2 separate regions of the Homo sapiens genome follow, and region 2 is linked to region 1. Evidence: promoter capture Hi-C in human tissues and cell types (Jung and others, 2019). All regions are on one chromosome and are shown on one strand. Each heading gives the region's core, a stretch centred on a gene start or on the middle of the fragment in contact. The rest is flanking DNA. Distances are from core to core; before and after follow the strand shown.

Region 1 (3,540 bases), core at 496-2,995:
AAGAAGGGAGCTGCCAGAAGGGGAGGCTGGAGGTTGGCAGAGGCCAATCAGGGGAGGCTGCTAGGCTTCTTGGCCAAATGGAGAGCTTGGACTTCAGCAGGGGGCAGTGGGGAGCCATGGAAGGGGTTAGAGCAGAGGAAAGGCACGCCCAGATCCAGCCTGGAGCTGGGACTAGCAAGTCCTCCCCATGTCTGCAACTGTCCTTTTTGATCACCACAGGAGTTTTGACCTGCTCCGTTTCCGACCTGGACCGGTTCACCCCTCCTTAGGCAACTTGGTGGTCCCCTGCTCCTGGGAGGTCACCATACTGATGTGCGGACAGCCAGTCAGCCTAACACACTACAGCCCAGAACTCCCAGGCTCGAGCAACCCTCCTGCCTCAGCCTCCGGAGTAGCTGGGACCGCAGGCTCATGCCACCACGCCCGGGTTCCAGCAGTCCTCCTGCCTCAGCCTCCCGAGTAGCTGGGAGCGCAGGCACGCGCCACCACGCCCGGGTTCGAGCAGTCCTCCTGCCTCAGCCTCCTGAGTAGCTGAGACTGCAGGTGCATGCCACGACGCCCGGGTTCAAGCAATCCTCTTGCCTCAGCTTCCGGAGTAGCCGGGACCACAGGCATGCGCCACCAGGCCCGGCTGCAACTGTCTTTTTTGAAGGACTGATGCTCTCACTTCCAACAAACCAGGTGCTGCTTCTCCCAACCCAACCCCTGGCCAGCCCCAAGTCTCTCCTCTAACCCCCAGCATGGGAGGAAGGGGCTGGCAGAGGGGACCCTGAGCTCAGGCTAAGGGGCATCAGGTGCTGGGCTGAGCAGCCAGGGTGTCAGACCTGGATGTGGAGGGCCGAGGAGAGCCCTGGGCGGAGATGGAGCAAGAGGCCGCCGGCGCAGCCCACACGTGGAGGCCCTGGCAGGCCGAGAGGGAGGCTGGTTTCACTCCACACCTCACCACTGCCTCCTCCCTGGGCCGACCAGGTGCTGACCTGCCCAGGTGTTGGCCCTGGCCCCAGGTGACCTCTTCACTGGCAGAGGGGAGAAAGGATGTCTTTCTACGTGTTCACCTGCACTCCCTCCCCCAGAATCGGAATCCAGCAGCAGCAGTCAGCGCCCACCCCCAGAATCGGAATCCAGCAGCAGCAGTCGGCCCCCACCTGTGCTGGGCGGGGTCCTTGGGGAGCAGAGAGCCCACAGCCCGCCGGCCACTCTGCAGCTCCCAACCCTGGGGCAGCCTGCCTGGTGCCCACAGCCCGCTCCCCCTTAGGGGCCAGCTGCAAGGCAAAGCTGCCAGGTCTGGGGTCCTCAGCAGCAGCCCCCGCCTCGGTGGGCAGGCCCTCTCCATCTCGTGTTCAGGACTCTGGTAGAGGTTCCTGGCCCCACACACTAGCTGAGAGCCCAGCCCTGGTGCCCTCAGAATCCCGGGCTGGAGGGAGGAACGCCGCCCGCCTCCAGCACTTCCAACCCCCAGCGTGCCCCAGGAGTCCAGGAGGCAGCTTAGCTGAGCCGGGCGGTCACCCTCGCCTGACCGGGCAGCCTGCAGGGACCCCCCCCACACACACAGGCGCCTTCCAGGTGGGGCTGGCGGGGGGCTGGGGCCGGGGGCCCCAGGTGTGGGCGTGGCTGGGGGCCTTGAAGGTGTGGACCCTTTTGAGCGCAGGACTCACCTGCATGCTGGCTGTGGCCGGAGTTCCAGCTGGGGTTTGGCGGCCAGGAGAGTGGCTGCCAGCGGCGGGTGCTCCTACCTGACTTCCGCGTGGGGCTCGCCCCTCCCTCCTCCTCCTCCAGCGTCCTGCAGCTGCCGCGCCTGGGTGTAGTCGGGGCGGAGCCAGCATCCAGGCCAGGAGAGTACCCCAGCCCCTGGAGCCTGGGACACCTTCCTGGAGCCCAGATGGCGGGTCAGGGGCCAGAGGGGAATTCCTAGGCTGGAGTTCCCGGGAAGGGGGTTTCCACTGTGAGATGGGTCTCATGACACCTGGTCCTAGGGGGAAGCAGGATGGCACAGAGCCCCTGACAGAGCCAGCACCAACGCCCCCACTTGCCTTGCCTCTCTCACCCCCGCTCACACATCCCCATGTTCCCTCCAAAAGCATCCCACCCCAGGCCATGCCCCCCACCCCGGGCCACGGCCCCCCACCCCGGGCCACGGCCTCCCCCACCCCGGGCCACGGCCTCCCCCACCCCGGGCCACGGCCCCCCACCCCGGGCCACGGCCCCCCACCCCACAGGTCCAGTGCTGATTCCCTTAGAGGAGAAACTGGGGCAAGGAGGACTGACGACGAGACAGACTCCCAAAGAAACTGTCTGCTCCTACCCAAGCCCCTGCTTTCTGGGCCCCACTGGGGAATCCTTGGAGTCCTGGGGACACGTGGCTGGCCCCAGGCTGTGTAGACAACGGAGGAGGAGCCCTCCACCCCGCATCCCCAGTCCCTGAGCACGTTCTGTGCAGCCTGGGCTGAGGGCGGCAGCTGGGCAGGCTCTGGGTGTCCTGAGAGTGACCGTCCAGTGGAGTGCCCTGAGGAGGGAAGGGCTGCGGGGAGTGGGGGCCCAGGCCGTGGGCTGGCACACATTATCTGCAGCGTGTGTGGCGAGGAGTCTGCTTCTGAAAGCTGCTGCAAAGCTGGGGAGGCAGGGCCAGAGCTCCGCAGGCAGACGCTGTCACACGGAACGGCTCCAGGCCCACTGGGGCCAGAGCACCCCCCGGCAAGCCCAGCAGCCCTCTGCTGTGGTCCAGGCCCAGGGCCAACAGTCGGCTCTGGTTTCCCCAAGGGGTAACATGGTCCCACCCATGTTTCTCCTTGGGGGACCTCCTGGCAGGCTGGGATGGCAGCAGAGACCACAGCTTTGCCACTTTGGCAAAGACAAGCGAGTGAAGTGGTGGCCGAGGACCTGTGAGCTCAGATGGGGCAAATCCAAATGGAACACATTCAGATCTGTGTGCAAAATGGTGGTGGCTTAAACAAGCTGTGTATTTCTCCTATAAGTGAAATCTGGAGTTGGCCGGGCGCAGTGGCTCATGCCTGTAATCCCGGCGCTTTGGCAGGCCGAGGCGGGTGGATCACCTGAGGTCAGGAGTTCGAGACCAGCTTGCCCAACATGGTGAGACCCCGTCTCTACTAAAAATACAAAAATTAGCCAGGTATGGTGGTGCACGCCTGTAATCCCAGCTACTCGGGAGGCTGAGGCAGGAGAATCGCTTGAACCTGGGAGGCAGAGGTTGCAGTGAGCCAAGATCACACCACTGCACTCCAGCCTGGGTGACAGAGTAAGACTCTGTCTTTAAAACAAAGCAAAACAAAAATCTGGAGTTGGCTAGTCCTGGACTAGTATGGCCGAACTATAGTCATCAGAGACCCAGAATGCCTTCAGCTTGTTGCTCTGCCACCTTAAATACATGGTCCCAGCACCTGGTCCAAAATGACTGCTCAAGCTCCAGTCATCACATCCACGTTCCAGCCAGTGGGAAGAGGAAAGGGCGAAGGAGGGAACCTCACCCTTCACATGGTTAGTCACGTGACCACACTCTATGGCAAGGAAGCCTGGGGCATGTGA
Region 2 (3,540 bases), core at 607-3,106, 320 kb after region 1:
CACCTGCCTCGGCCTCCCAAAGTGCTGGGATCACAGGCATGAGCCACTGTGCCCGGCTGCTAGTGTTTTTTGTTTTGATTTGTTTTGTTTGTTTTTTGAGACAGAGTCTCGCTCTGTTGCCAGTGTAGAGTGCAGTGGTGTGATCTCAGCTCACTGCAACCTTCACCTCCCGGGTTCAAGCGATTCTCCTGCCTCAGCCTCCCAAGTAGCTGGGACTACAGACACCCGCCACCATACCCAGCTAATTTTTTTGTATTTTTAGTAGCGACAGGGTTTCACCATGTTGGCCAGGATGGTCTCGATCCCTTGACCTTGTGATCTTCCCGCCTCAGCCTCCCAAAGTGTTGGGATTACAGGCGTGAGCCACGGCACCTGGCCCAGTGTTTTTTAATACAAATTATAGCCTATGGATCCCACTGAGGACCTCTGTTTGTGAGACTGGGTGTGAGTTGCTGTCAGAGCCATTCTGCAAACCTCCAGTGAGGGGAAGGTTGAGGGCAGTGGTTGGTGCTCACGGTGGTGCTGCTCAAAACTGACAGGCAGACACCCGGCCTCCAGCTTGCTCTGCGTGGTGGGCAACCTGCGTGATCTGAGGGGATGGGTTCTTCTTGCTCCTACAGGCTCTCCTTTGATAAAGATGCGATGGTGGCCAGAGCCAGGCGGCTCATCGAGCTCTACAAGGAAGCTGGGATCAGCAAGGACCGAATTCTTATAAAGCTGTCATCAACCTGGGAAGGAATTCAGGCTGGAAAGTAAGTGGTCCCCCACAAGGAAGGAGCTCTCAGAGATTTTTCCTCTGTTGGAGCAGGGTCTACATGGCATCAGGCAAGTTTGACTCTCTCAGCCCTGGGGAATGCCAGACTGGGGAGCACAGCCCACAGCTTGGACTTGACCAGCTCATGTCAGCCTAGATCTGCCCTCTGCTCCAGAGCCAGCTCCCTCACTTGCTGGTGATCAGAAATGAGGGATTTCCCAGGAAGTACCATCCACCCACTCAGCAGAGAAGAAAAGCCACTAGTTAGCACCTGCAGATTCAGATTCTGTCCTTCCTCTGTCCTGATCAACACAAGCCTATGTTTACATGATTTTTAAAAAGTAAACTATTGTTATATAAAATATATGCTGGCTGGGCAAGATGGCTCATGCCTGTAATCCCAGCAATTTGGGAGGCTGAGATGGGAGGATCACTTGAGCCCAGGAGTTCCAGACCAGCCTGGGCAACAAAGTGAAACCTTGTCTCTACAAAAATATAAAGAAATTTTAGGCTGGGCACGGTGGCTCCCAGCACTTTGGGAGGCCGAGGCGTGGGGATCACGAGGTCAGGAGATCGAGACCATCCTGGCTAACACGGTGAAACCCCGACTCCACTAAAAAATATAAAAAATTAGCCGGGCATGGTGGCACACACCTGTAGTCCCATTTAGGAGGCTGAGGCAGGAGAATTGCTTGAACCCAGGAGGCGAAGGTTGCAGTTAGCTGAGATCACACCACTGCACTCCAGTCTGGGTGACAGAGCAAGACTCTGTCTCAAAAAGAAAAGAAAACTTTTAGGCCGGGCACGGTGGCTCATACCTGTAATCCTAGCACTCTGGAAGCCTGAGGTGGGTAGATCACCTGAGGTCAGGAGTTCGAGACCAGGCTGGCCAAGATAGTGGAACCCCGTCTCTACCAAAACTACAAAAAATTTAGCTGGGCGTGGTGGCAGGTGCCTGTAATCCTAGCTACATGGGAGGCTGAAGCAGGAGAATCACTTCAACCTGGGAGGTGGACGTTGCAGTGAGCCGAGATTGCACCATTGTACTCCAGCCTGGGTGACAGAATGAGACTCCATCTCAAAAAAAAAAAAAAAAAAGAAAAGAAAAACTAGCCCACCCCTGTGATTCCAGCTACTTAGGAGGCTGAGGCGGGAGGATCGCTTGAGCCTGGGAAGTTGAGGTTCCAGTAGCTATGATCGTACCACTGCACTCCAGCCTGGGTGACAGAGTGAGACCCTGTCTCAGAAAAACCAAACCAAACATATGTACGTTCAGAGTGGAAGAGACAGAAAATGTATAAAACAAAGTAAAACTCCTCTATGATGTTCTCACCCAGAAGCAGCCAATGCTATACTCAAATAATTCGCATCAGGAAGAGGTGTTTTGTTTCCACATCTGTGTGTCTGCATGTTCTACCACCTGCCATCACTGACCTGCTCTGAGATAGCATCTCACTTTTTCACCACGGCTGGAGTGCAGTGGCACGAACTTGGCTCACTGCAGCCTTGACTCCAGGCTCAAGCTATCTTTCCACCTCAGTCCCCCAAGTGGCTGGGATGACAAGCACACATACCACTCCTGGGTAATTTCACCACGTTCCCCAGGCTGGTCTCGAACCCCTGGGCTCAAGAGATCTCTACCCATCTTGGCCTCCCAAAGTGCTGGGATTATAGGCATGAGCCATTGTGCCTGGCCTCATTTGTGTGTTTTTTTGTTTTTTTTTGTTTTTGAGACGGAGTTTCATTCTCGTCCATGCTGGAGTGCAATGGTGCTATCTCAGCTCACTGCAACCTCCACCTCTGGGGTTCAAGAGATTCTCCTGCCTCAGCCTCCGGAGTAGCTGGGATTACAGGCAGGCGCCACCACTCCCGCCTAATTTTATATTTTTAGTAGAGATGGGGTTTCTCATGTTAGTCAGGCTGATCTCAAACTCCCAGCCTCAGGTGATCCGCCCGCCTCGGCCTCCCAAAGTGTTGGGATCACAGGTTTGAGCCACTGCACCTGGCCGGACCATTTGTTTTTATATGTTGGAAAATACTCCATTTTATGGATAGGCCACAGTTATTCATCTGTTGGTGGACACCTGGTCAGTTTCCATCTCTTGAGCTGTGATGTATATTGCTGTGGTCGGTTTCCATTTCTCGGGCTGTGATGTATGCTGCTGCTCTGAACACATCTGCTGCTATGAACACATCTGCTGCTCTGAACACAGATGTGCAAGTTTTGTCCTGGACATGTGTTTTTGTTTCTCGTGGGCATATGCCTAGGAGTGGAGTCTCTGGGTGACTGCTGGAGGAACTGCAGGCTGTTTCCCAACTCAGCTGTGCCATCTGCTGTCCCCCTCGAACACCCCCGTGTGGCCATGTGGCAGAGGCGCCTGGGGAGGGAACTTGTGTCTGAAGGTGCCTGAGCAGAGCCTTGGCTGTCTCATCCCATGCCCCAGCCACATGGCAAAGTATGGGCACTGCTCCGTCCTTGGGGATCAACCCCAGGATGTCCAAAGTGCACTGGGATTTGGGCAAGTGGCCTAGTGAGGCCAAGGGGCTCCTCTCAGCAGAAACCAGGGTGCTACGGGCCTGCTGCAGGGTGGCCCCAGGAATGGGTAGGGTGGAACAGGGTGAGGACTGGAATGTGGTCAGAGATGACTCAGTGGTTCTAGCCTGGGAGCTGAGCCCTGGTGAGTTCTGGGATGAGGTGACGGCCTGGCGCAAGAGCACGGGCACCCAGAGGGCCTCCCTTGCCTTTGTCTATTGTGTCATGTGGGTTGGAGAAAATCCTGGTCACC

What was found. Contacts are between HindIII fragments. The study calls those that stand out against the background at their distance.
Region 2: a contact is called between a fragment that was not itself captured here and the fragment with the promoter of ANO9 in region 1, in 1 of the 25 tissues and cell types used here (lymphoblastoid cells).

Annotation. Positions count from the first base shown.
Region 1 is chr11:440,266-443,805 of GRCh38, forward strand. ANO9 (anoctamin 9) reads right to left here and starts at 1,746. Exons shown (of 23, transcript NM_001012302.3): 1 at 1,656-1,746. The coding sequence starts at 1,661. It overlaps LOC105376506 (a long non-coding RNA gene), which reads left to right. Exons shown (of 5, transcript XR_007062542.1): 5 at 220-408. It also overlaps the pseudogene RN7SL838P. RefSeq lists silencers at 1,520-1,599, 1,644-1,938 and enhancers at 1,770-2,039, 2,347-3,144. The HindIII fragment of the contact is 11,307 bases long and covers 1-3,540 here.
Region 2 is chr11:759,502-763,041 of GRCh38, forward strand. It overlaps TALDO1 (transaldolase 1), which reads left to right. Exons shown (of 8, transcript NM_006755.2): 4 at 621-752. Among named protein-coding and RNA genes, the nearest start is that of TALDO1, 14 kb to the left of the region's middle. RefSeq lists an enhancer at 3,087-3,540. The HindIII fragment of the contact is 7,127 bases long and covers 1-3,540 here.